2 separate regions of the Homo sapiens genome follow, and region 1 is linked to region 2. The links are contacts of gene promoters, found by promoter capture Hi-C in blood cells and fetal thymus (Javierre and others, 2016). All regions are on one chromosome and are shown on one strand. The core of a region is centred on a gene start or on the middle of the fragment in contact, and the rest is flanking DNA. Distances in the headings are between cores, read along the strand shown. Region 1 overlaps ZMIZ1 (zinc finger MIZ-type containing 1). Region 2 holds the start of POLR3A (RNA polymerase III subunit A).

Region 1 (5,944 bases), core at 2,727-5,226, 1.1 Mb after region 2:
GCAGGAAGGAAGTGAGAGTGGGAGGCCAAGGAGGGGCTGTTGCCCCCACCCAGGCAAAGGAGCTGGCGAGGAGTGGGCAGATCCGCACGCGGGGAGGGTGAACGGTGGAAATGGCAGATGGCTTGGTTGAGGGGGAGCGTCAGAAACCAGGATGGTTCCTTGACTTTTGGATTTGATGCCTGGGTGGGTGGGGGTGGAGAGGGCATTTGATCCAAAAGGAGGGCGGAGGGAGAACAGGATCTAGGGGAGGGAGGGCAAGGGGTGATGCCAACCTGGACACAGGTTTTCGGTGTCTGTTGACATCGGAGTGGAGAGGGGAGCCCTGGGGGAGCAGCTGCATGGGGCACACCAGGCCCCAGGCTGGCAAGCCCTCCTCCCTGGGGCTCTTTGCCAGCCCGGAGCCAGGCTGTGTGGGCGAGTGCTTCCCTGGGGGCCTGGCCTGGGGTTTTGTCCCATTGCATCATGGATGAGGACCTTCCGGTCCCCTGGCTTGGAGGCAGACGTAGGTGGAGGTGCAGAGTGGTCCACGGCTCTGCCCAAAAGGCTGGACAAGTTGGAAGGTGGTCTGTCATTCAAGCACCATTTGCCATTGGCTGGATGCGAGCCCTGGTGTCACTACCAACCTTGTTCCCAGCTGGGCTGACTTCTTACTATGAACTAGCAACTATGAACTAGTCCTGCCACTCCTGTGCCTGGACTGGGATGGGAAGGACAGCAGGAGTAGCAACATGCTCTGGAATTTTTCACAGCAGACCTGGTTCACTTTCATCTGGTCACCAGACAATGTAGTGACCCCTCCCCTCTCTGGGCCTCAGAATCCCACCTGAGACCCCAGGATGGAGTAGAAGGTCTTCAGGGTCTCCGTGTGAAACACAGCCTTTCGATGACGGAGATTTGGTATTGAGAGGGTCATGGCGTGAGTAAAGGCCTGGAGGCTGGTCTAGGGAGTCACCTTGCAGGATCTTGGGGAGCGGATGAGTATAGAGTCCGCGTGCATAGAAGCCATGTGCAGGGTGGTCACTGGAGGTGAGGTGGGAACACCAGGCTGCCTGGTTGGGTCAGAGGGACCAGATTACCATATAAGCCATTGTGCTCTCAGGATAATCTCCTGGCTTGTTAAAGCCTCAGTTTTGTCATCTGCAAAATGGGTACAATAGACGTCACTGAGCTTGCAGGGGTGAATACCCACCAAGGTACAGAGATGGGCCAACTCAGTGCCTGGTCGTAGGATGTCTTTGATTTCCAGAGGTTGCCTTCTTTCCCTGTCTTTCTCCAGTTTGTAGCCAGAATCCAAATTTCAGGGGAGGGCTCTTTTGCTGTTGGGGCTTCCTGTGAGAGCCACAGCCCTGGGCCTGGGAGTCCTGCCAAACCCAACTCTGGAGGCCGTGAACCTCACCGTAGCCTTGGGGACTGGCCCGCTGGCCACGGCACTCTGAGCATCAGCCTTAGGTACTGCTAGTAGGAGGTGCACTGGGGTTTTAACCAGAGGCAGTAATGAGCTTTCTGAAATCATGCCAGCTTCATGTTTTGTTTCTCAAAGAAACGATGGGCCTTGATTTCCTATCAGCATTGATGTGGTTGCTGTTGTTGTTGGGTTGTTGTTGTGGGGTGTGTGTGTGTGTGTGTGTGTGTGTGTGTGTGTGTGTGTGTGTCTTAACTGCCATGGGTTTTAAAGCCATGGTGGAAAGTGAGGAAAATAGCAGATGCTAGATCCAATTGCCACCAAACTGTCTTGAAATGCTATAAATATTTTCTAAAAAGACTAGCTTCCCGAGCCCAATGTGTTAGTTGTCTCCTCCCTGAGAAACTGATTCCCGAAAATTTAGACAAATAACCTCTTAAATCACAGCTGTTAACCTCGGGTGTAAAAACTGCTACCACACCAGCCGCAGGTCACAGCGACTCTGCTCTGCCTAAGTGCCTCCGTGTGGCATAGAGAAGGTGGTGGCAGAGAAGAGAGATCTTGTGCTTAGGCAAGAGACCAGGGTCGGAAGCCGGGCTTGGCCACTGACTGCTGTGTGACCTGGGGCCATTGGCCCACCTCTCTGAGCCTCTTCTGTGTAACAGACCTGTTACAGGCTGCCTCGATCCTGAGAGTGCCACTGAACTGAGCTTCTTTCTGCTCCTCAAAGGTAAACAAAAGTGACCGTTGGCATTCAGGAGTTCATGTTAATCAGGACTGAGAAAACCCCTCCGCCCCTAGTCCCCTTTAGCCCTCTGACTGTGTCAAGGACAGCTGCCAGTGACTGGATACTTGCTGGTGTCTCTTTTCAACAGAGAGCACCTGCAGGACCCGGAGCCTCCAGCAGGCAGGCAGCAAAACAGTGCCATTGTTTGTTCTCCTTGTATTTGTTTTTGTGTTTAACTTCTATCCTTGGTGAGTAAGGCTAATTTTGTATTTAAGGTAGTAATATAAAGTTCTTTTAAAAATAAAAGTATTTATGCAAAAGTTGTGAATTGATTATTAAGCTAATGGCAGTTTCGATGGCAGAAGGAAATGACAAACATCAGGAAGATGGGAGGAAATGTGACGGACTCTGCACACTGTCCAGGTTGCCCTTCCCCTAAGTGCTCACCAACTTCTGTGCCCTTGTAGAAGGAATGAGTGGGGAGGGGTTGCTGGAGGGACGTTCTGGTAAATTGTCTTCCAATTGCACAATACCCAGAGGTGACCACCACACTCCCTAAGACGGTGGGGCTACAGAAAGCCCCATTCTGGCATCCGGGCCAAGGAAACCACTCTCGTGGAGAGTCTTGGCCAAGAAGCTGGGATTCTGTAGCAAAACCAAATCCCCCCACCCCCAGGCCCTCTGTGCCTCTCCATTGAAGTTCCCAAACTGAGGGTCTAAGCTTGACACCATCTGGCTGCTCTCTCCTAGGCCAGAGACCAAGACCAGGCCCTAGCTCTCCCAGATGTGGCTGAACCCAGCAGAATGTAGTAGTTGCTCCACTAACAGGGACATCAAGTGCTGTAGGTTTTGTCTTATGCTCTGCCTGAGAGTGACAGCCTGGAGTGCTATACAGAATAGCAATTCTGAGGCTACAAGGAGCTCTGTAAGAGAGCATGGGGACCAATTGGTAATGCCTGCCATGGGTGTGGGAAGGAAGCCTGGGGGTACACAGGCCTTTATTTGTGACTCATATGCTCCCCCAAGCCTGTGGCTAGATCCTGCCCCCATTGCATCGCCAGCACCCAGCTTGGCGATCAGTGGGTGATTGAGCCCAGAAGCTCCTATAAGAACTTAGCAGATGCTCCTTGGCCGGTCTTTGCCCGTTGTGCAAGGGGACATCCCCCAACCACATTGCAGGCCCTGGAGGGTCAACACTCAGCCCTTGAGTTTAGGAAGCTCTTGTTCATTCCATACCCACTCCCTGCTAGGGCTGGATATGGGGTAGGTACCCAGGAAGTGTGTTGATGAGACCCAAGAATGATCGACAAATGGGACTGGAGAGGTGGTTCGGCCTGGCTTGGCGGCAGTCCATGTAACACTACCTCACTACAGGCATCGTGCAGGTGGCCGAGTGCCCCAGATTTTCTAGGACAGCCCTGGTTTCAGATCCTTCATCTATTGTTCTTGAGTGCCCCTGCCTGAACAGGCATTTGGGCTCCGCTTTGGAAGTCCTGGCTGCTGTGGATATAGCCCTCATGATCATGCTTTTTGATCATTTTCAGAGCACTCACTCTTCCATTGCCTTTGCATCTGGCCAGGGGATGGAGCAGCCCCATTTGCTCACTTTTTTCAGGTGAGGAAATTGAAGGCCAGAGTGAGCAAGTGACTGGCTTGCGGCCACACAGCCAGTTAATGCAGACATCTGGCCTGAACCTGTGATACCCATCTTCTGGCCACTTCACTGTCCACTTACAAAGCCCAGAACTTTCTGCATCCTGCTATTTAAGCCTCATTCATTCAGTCAGCTTTTGTAGCCTAGCGGGTTAGACCTCAGGAGTCAAACAGCATGCTTTGCATTTGAACTACTTCTGGCCGTGTGACTTTTGGTGAGTTCCTTTCTCTCTCTGTGCCTCAGTTTCTTCATTGATAAAAGGGGTGTAGACACCACACGGGGCTCTTGTGAGTATTACTGGGTTAACAGTGTCTGTCTCAGGGTGAGGGTTCTGTGGGGCCCGCCAGTGGTGTTCACAGAGGTGGATTGATCAGAGTTGCTCACAGTCTGGTGAATGTGAGGTGGGAGGCAGATGTGTTCACCACGAAAGAGCGTTCAAGTGGATGGGTGAGGTCAGAGGTGCACTGGGCACCACCGGGCGGTGGGAGGAGGGACCGTCTCCATTGCTCCCACACTACTCGGAGGCATTCAGAAAGGCTCCTCCGTTGATGGACGCTACTTGGAGCAGGGCTTGCAGGGGGCAGGGAGGGCACTGGCCTGATCCTGGCAGATAGCAACCTCCAAAACTTCTCTGGACAGAGGATGGCACTCATGCCTACCGCCTCACTACCTCCAGCAGCTGGAGCTTCTGGGCTCTGCTGTAGGGTGGAGGTGGGGTTGAGAAGAGGTGAAAAGACCCAGTTGCTTTGTCCCAGGGGCAGGCACAGAGTCCTGCCTGAGGGCCCTGGCATGGGGTAATTGTCTATTGTTCATCGTCTGGTAAGCCAGCTCCCCACCTTCTTTCTGCCTGCCTGCCTTTCTGTCCTTCCTCTCAGCATCTGTCTATGCAATATAAAGAGCCCCTCCCAACACAGTCACCAGTGATCTGCTTCCAGGCTAGTGTTGACATCCCAGCCCACCCGGAGACCCATTTATTCTGCCACTGGGGCACAGGGCCCAGTTTTAATCATCCTCGCTCCACTGTGAGATACAGATGGTTGTATTATTAATAGTCATAATTAATCAGCATCCACAGAGGAGCTTTTCCCTAGGCAGCAGATCCTCAGGACGAGCAGCCCTGGGAGGTCCCATTCCAGTCCCCCTTTACAGACAGGGGAAGTGAGGCTGGGAGAAGGGGTGGTGGGACTCATCCGAGGTGGAGCTAGGTATGGACCCCAGCTCAGATCTCAGATCTGATAACCACCTGCAGTGTTACTGTCTGGGAATGGACTGTTCACCCCACCCACCCATACCTAGGTCCTAGGGTGCCAATTGCTGGGAGAAGCTTTCAGCACTGGGGATGGGAGGGTGGTGCTCAGGCTGATGGTGCACTTTGAGATCTCAGGCTGAGAGTGAAGGAAGAAAGGTGGGATGGGGAAGAAAGGCCTGAGGGAGGCCGGACATATTGGGCTAGCAGGACAGGGGGCCTGATTGGGGTAAGGGTGGGGAGGTGGCCTTGGGTAGAAGGAAAGCCAAATACCAACCATCACCCCCTAATACACACAGATCGTGGGTCAGGGCCTGAGGTTGGCTGCTTCTCTGTTCTAAGCTCTGCATCCCAGGGACAGTGATATAAATGCTTACAGCAGGCAGCATCCTGATTTATGGGGCTGTTTTGGACGGGCCTAACTACATCAGCACAGAGGCAGTGAGGGGCTTCTTGCACAATTCTGCAAGCCCACCTTCTCCCCTGCCTGGCTCCTGGGGCTGACCACCACCGAGGCCCCTGTGCATGCATGTGCACATGCATGCACCCAGACCCACGCCTGAGTGGGCACACCCAGGCCCACGTGCTCTGTGTGCACCTGAGGCTGTCCACATCCCTGCCCACAGCCCATAAACTGTGTTAGCCCAGCACGCAGGTGTGTGCTGCTTTGGGCCTGTGCGCAGATGAACACAGGTGTGCCCAGGTGCACACATGTGTGTGTCTGCCTGCACTCTGCAGGCATCCATGTGCCTATGTCCTCTGGGCTGCCTCTCTCTGTGTTGATCTGTTCGTGGCTCTGGGAGGTGGATGTCTGTTCGCTGTCCTGTGTGTGTCCCAGTGTGGATGTGCATTGGTGAGGGGTGTACATGCCTCTGTGCAAGTGCGCCTGTGTGCATGGGTCTGTGTGCACACATG
Region 2 (6,030 bases), core at 447-2,946:
AGTGCTGGGATTACAGACGTGAGCCACCACTCCTGGCCTCTGCTAGAGGATTTTAATTGACAATACCCTTAATTTGCACTTTGACAGAAGCACTTTCTCTGTTTTGTGAGAATGTATTATATCTGACTGGGCGCAGGTGTACAGGTGGGTGTGAAGGGCCAGTGTCGATGTAGAGCTACCACATGGGAGAATGCTGCATTCACCTAGGTAAGACACCTGTTCTAGTGAATGGCAACCATCCACACAGCTGCCCAAGCAAGGCATTCTGTATATCCGTCTCAAGGTCTCTCGACCTCTAATTCTTTCCACCATGAATCAAGAGATTTTCCAGAAGGAGAACTCTTATCAAGATACTCTCCTGTTGAAAATCCTTCAAAGGTTCCTCACTGCCTACAAGATGACTTCTTAACACAGCTTCAAGTCTTCTGCTTCCTTCTGATCACCTGTGTTCTCTCCCTCAGGTCTGCTCCTTGAAAAAAGCAGTTTGGTCTGCTTTCTTTTGCCTGGACCCATTATGTGCTCTCAAAACCCCCTGGACCTACCCTTGTCATTGCACTTGTCGTACCCAGTGTTGACTTGTGTACCTTCTCCAACTAGATTAGGCAGTAAAAGTTTTATTCAGACCGTATCTTTAACGTCCAACACTGGGAATAACGCGCAGTATCCTCCTCAGTGTCTGCTGTAAGAATGATGAATTCACTTTTTTTTTTGAGACACCGTCTCACTCTGTCACTCAGGGTGGAATGCAGGAGGTTGCCCACTGCAACCTCTGCCTCCCAGGCTCAAGTGATTTTTCGGCCTCAGCCTCCCGAGTAGCTGGGACCACAAGGGCGCGCCACCACGCCTGCTAATTTTTGTATTTTTGATAGAGACGGGGTTTCGCCACGTTGCCCAGGCTAGTCTCAAACTCCTGAGCTCAGGAGATTCACCCGCTTCGGCCTCCTAAAGTGCTGGGATTACAGGAGTAAGCCACCGCGCCCGGCTGGATTCACTTTCTTACCGAGAACTCTAAGAAGGAGCCACCGCCTAATAACGTATTTCTGAAGGCAAAAGTCCGGATAGCAGCTTTATTTCTGACACTGCCATCCGTCGGCCTGTGGTACAGCTTTCTAGTGGGCAACCCCATCCTTTTGGTAAGCAACTACTGCCTCCGTGTCAGACGCTCTGCGGCTGACAGAATTAGAGACAGTCCCCGCCCCAGATTGCTCCCCTCGCTGCAGCAGGGGATAGTTCGCTGAAGAACAGGGATCATTGTATGACTTCAGGAGAATGCGAGCTTTGGCCCAGGGTGCACAAATCATTAAGGCTCAGGCCACTCCGACTTCTCCGCCCAAGTCCAGGGACCTCTCGAGGTGCTGAAATCCCCTCAGCCTGACCAATGCTCTTTGACCAACGCTGGTAGTTCTGGGCGCTGGTCACACCTATGGACTACTGGCCCTCCCCTTCCCATTGCACCCCATCTCTGACCCTGCAAGACCCGGGACCGCTGACCTCGGACCCCTTGCCCTATTTCTCAGCCCTTTGGCCACTCTTACTCCGTCTTACATTTTCTTGGCCACATCCGTCTCCCGGAACTGCTCCTTCACCATGATGACCGCTGCCGGGACGCCTCCTTGGCACTCGGGAGGCCAGATTAGAGAAACGATGCCCCCAGCACCTCCTGGGGCTGCTTCTGGACTCGCCGCTAACACATCTGCGGCATCCTCTCGGCCACCGTAGAGTGTCCCACGTGTCCGCTTCCTCTTCCGCTACTCGCCCGCGCGTCTGTCTGTCAAGAGAGACTTCCGGCATGCCTTTTTTTTTTTTTTTTTTCCCTTTCCCCGCACCGTCACCTGGTGGCGCTTACTGGAAGCCGCACCGAGGCGTGTGCTGTATTTTAAAAATCCCATTTCTGGTCAATTTCTCCACGTAATCAGACACCCGCAGAGAAACTGCATATAACTCTTTGCCTCAAGGCTTTTAGACAAGCAGAGGGCCAAAACTTGCATAAAATGGAAAATCATCATCATTAACATCAGTACCATCTAAATTAAGAGCTTCTAATTGTTTTAAGGGAAGGTGGAAGCTAAAATGAACCGGCCCATCCAACAGAGGGCACTATCTGTGGAGGACCAACAAAGGAAAACAGAGCGGAAAATATGGGCGCACATGTGCCTCCAGTTCATGAAGTTATTTGGAGGGAGGGGGGAAGAATTAAACTTACATTATTGATTACAAAAACAGTTGAAAATCTGTTAGAGTGAAAACAGCCATGGTAATCTACAGAAGAAAAGGGAGAATGGAAAGTAAAGATCATTCATGTCTTGAAATAAGTTGTCTACAGTCTGTGAGAACTTGTGGGAGGTGATCCTAGTGTGATATATTAGTGCATGAGCCTAGCAAGGAAATCACATCACCACAGGGCTTAGCGCTTAGAATTAGAACTAAGTCCTCATTATTTGTGAGAAACTCAAAACAGAACTTAACAAAAGTGTTTAACAACTTTCAATTTTTAAGAAGGGACGCTATCTCATTTTCAGACGCCATGGATCCTCACTAGCAAAACACAATGTCACAGACAAACGAGGCATATCAGGTTTTTCTAACTCATTTCGGTACTCCATCACTTAATCATGAAATAATGTTGACTATATATATATATATATATATATATATATAGTCAACATTATGGGTTTTTTTTGTTTTTTTTTTTTTTTTTTTTTTGAGACGGAGTCTCGCTCTGTCGCCTAGACTGGAGTGCAGTGGCGAAATCTCGGCTCACCGCAACCTCCGCCTCCCGGGTTCAAGCGATTCTCCTGGCTCAGCCTCCCGAGTAGCTGGGACTACAAGCGCCCGCCACCACGCCCAGCTAATTTTTGTATTTTTAGTAGAGACGGGGTTTTACTATGTTGGCCAGGCTGGTCTCGAATCCCTGACCTCGTGATCCGCCCGCCTCAGTCTCCCAAAGTGATAGGATTACAGGTGTGAGCCACCACACCCGGCTCTGATGTTTACAATATTATACCAACAAGGGTTGGATCGTGTGTGACTTATCTAGAGGTTAAGAGCAAAAGTTATGAAATCACAGTGCCATCATGGGAGTCTAGCTTTCACCATTTAAAGTTGTGTAGGCAGCCAGGCGTGGTGGCTCACGCCTGTAATCCTAGCACTTTGGGAGGCCAAGGTGGGCGGATCACCTGAGGTCAGGAGTTCGGGACCAGCCTGGTCAACATGGTGAAACCCCATCTCTACTAAAAATACAAAAATTAGCTGGGGTTGGTGGTGTGCGCCTGTAATCCCAGGTACTCGGGAGGCTGAGGCAGGAGAATCGCTTGAAGCTGGGAGGTGGAGGTTGCAGTGAGCCGAGACCATGCCATTGCACTGCAGCCTGGGCGACAAGAGTGAAACTCCATCTCAAAAATAAAAAAAAATAAAAAATAAAGTTGTGCAGGCCGGGCGCGGTGGCTCACGCCTGTAATCTCAGCACTTTGGGAGGCCGAGGTGGGCAGATCATGAGGTCAGGAATTTGAGACCAGCCTGACCAATATGGTGAAACTCCGTCTCTACTAAAAAATACAAAAATTAGCCTGGTGTGGTGGCGCATTCCTGTAATTCCAGCAACTCAGGAGGCTAAGGCAGGAGAATCGCTTAAATCCGGGAGGCGGAGGTTGCAGTGAGCCAAGATTGTGCCACTGCACTCCAGCCTGGGCAACAGAGCAAGACTCTGCCTCAAAAAAAAAAAAAAAAAAAATATATATATATATATATATAGATATAGATATAGATATATGTGTATATATACACATACGTGTATATATACACGTATATAAAGTGTGAACTTGGGAAAGTTATTTAATCTTATTGTGTGTTAGTTTCCCCATTTATAACATGGGTGAGTAATATGTATCCTATTTCTTAGAGTCAATGGGAAGGTTAAATAGCAAAATGAAGGTAAAAGTAATTAGAATGTAACAGGCACATTACAATCACTCAATAAATATTCTTCTGCCTCAGCCTCCCGAGTAGCTGGGACTACAGGTGCGCACCACCATGCCTGGCTAATTTTTGTATTTTTAGTAGAGACGGGGTTTCACCATATTGGCTAGGCTGGTCTTGAACTCCTGACCTCGTGATCTGCCTGCCTCGGCCTTCCAGAGTGCTGGGATTACAGGCATGAGCCACCGTGCCCAGCCGGCTGACTATTTTCTTAAGAATAAGGATAGTTGGTCACCTCGGGAGGCTGAGGCAGAAGAATCGCTTGAACTTGGGAGGCGGATGTTGCAGTGACCCGAGATCCCGCCACTGCACTCCAGCCTGGGTGACAGAGCGAGATGCGGTCTCAAAAAAAAAAAAAAAAACAAAAAACGAAAAAAAAGAAAAATAGTCGGCCGGGGACGGTGGCTCACGCCTATAATCCCAGCACTTTGAGAGGCCGAGGCGGGGGCGGATCACTTGCGGTCAGGAGTTGGAGACCAGCCTGGCCAACATGGTGAAACCCCGTCTCTCCTAAAAATACAAAAATTAGCTGGGCATTGTGGCGCAGGCCTGTAATTTTAGTTACTCTGGAAGCTGAGCCAGGAGAATCGCTTGAATCCGGGAGGTCGAGGTTGCAGTGAGCCGCGATGAAGCCATTGCTCTCCAACCTGGGTGACAAGAGCTAGACTCTGTCTCAGGAAAAAAAAAAAAAGAAAATAGGAAAGCTGCCCGCAAAGCCTGCACCTTGGACACCTCGTCTGCACTAACATTTGGGAAATTCTTCTTATTATTTCTCCGGAACATATATATTTACATTCTTTACATGTCTGTTTCACGTTAAAGAAAATATTTCTGGAGCAATCAATTTTTTTTTCCTTTTTTTTTTTTTTTTTCTGAGACGGAGTTTCGCTCTTATTGCCCAGGCGGAGTGCAATGGTGCGATCTCGGCCCACTGCAACCTCCGCCTCCCGGGTTCAAGCGATTCTCCTGTCTCAGCCTCCCAGATAGCTGGGATTAGAGGCATGCACCACCACGCCCGGCCAATTTTTTTTTTTTTGTAGTAGAGACGGGGTTTCGCCATTTTGCCCAGGCTGGTATCGAACTTCTGACCTCAGGTCATCTACCTGCTTCGGCCTCCCAAAGTGTTGGGATTATAGGCGTGAGCCACTGCCCCTGGCTTCCAATTTTTTTTTCCTTTTTTTTCTTTTCTTTTTTTTTTTTTTCTGAGACGGATTTTCGCTCCTGTTGCCCAGGCTGGAGTGCAATGGTGTGATCTCGGCCCACTGCAACCTTTGCTTCCCGGGTTCTGGCGATTCTCCTGCCTCAGCCTCCCGAGTAGCTGGGATTACAGGCATGAGCCACCACGCCCCGCTAATTTTGTATTTTGTATTTATTTATTTATTTATTTTCGTAGATACGTGGTTTCGCCATGTTGGCCAGGCTGGTATCGAACTCCTGACCTCAGGTGATCCGCCCGCCTTGCCCTCCCAAAGTGCTGGGATTACAGGCGTGGCCATCGCGCCCGGCCAAATATTTTTCAAAATCTAATTTTGCATAATGACCAAGATTTGCAGAAAAATACAAATTAAAGAGATCTTTTAAAGTAAAGATTCGTCATAAAAGTCACAGAAATAATACTCATGAATAATAAATTAGAATGGGCAATGTTAAGTACTTGAAATAACAAAGGTTTTAGAGTCAGGGTTTCTGCAGTTTCCCTAGCCATATAACGAGGAGACTGTTAGAGAGGATATCCTAAAATGCTTTCCAAGTTTACCCACCTCTAACTCGGAAGAAGGCAATTTAAACTAATTTGGTTTACCGGAATTCAAATACGTACAATTCAACATAATGAATTGAACTGAAATTGAACACCTGCTTGCGTAAACCTAGTCGGCTCGAGTTGTTCTGGTTCTGGATTGGTCAGTCTAGAGTTCCAGGGGTGTGGCCAAAAGTCTGTGAGGCGGGGCCGTAGGCAGCCTAAATCAGGCATCGGCGCGGTCAGCCTCGTGGCGCGCCCACGCCCCCACGCCGGCTCTTCCCGGGGTCCTTCCGTGCGCGTTGATATGATTGGCC

Evidence for each region. Contacts are between HindIII fragments. The CHiCAGO score rates a contact against its expected background, and 5 or more counts as called.
Region 1: a contact is called between a fragment that was not itself captured here and the fragment with the promoter of POLR3A in region 2, in 5 of 17 cell types (naive B cells, activated CD4 T cells, endothelial precursors and 2 more). The highest score is 7.6, in naive B cells.

What each region holds. Positions count from the first base shown.
Region 1 is chr10:79,103,343-79,109,286 of GRCh38, forward strand. All of the region lies in intron 1 of ZMIZ1 (zinc finger MIZ-type containing 1), which reads left to right. Among named protein-coding and RNA genes, the nearest start is that of ZMIZ1, 37 kb to the left of the region's middle. RefSeq lists an enhancer at 1-521 and a silencer at 4,012-4,189. The HindIII fragment of the contact is 2,257 bases long and covers 2,849-5,105 here.
Region 2 is chr10:78,027,819-78,033,848 of GRCh38, forward strand. It overlaps POLR3A (RNA polymerase III subunit A), which reads right to left and starts at 1,697. Exons shown (of 31, transcript NM_007055.4): 1 at 1,546-1,697. The coding sequence starts at 1,589. RefSeq lists enhancers at 1,617-1,866, 5,845-6,030. The HindIII fragment of the contact is 13,008 bases long and covers 1-6,030 here.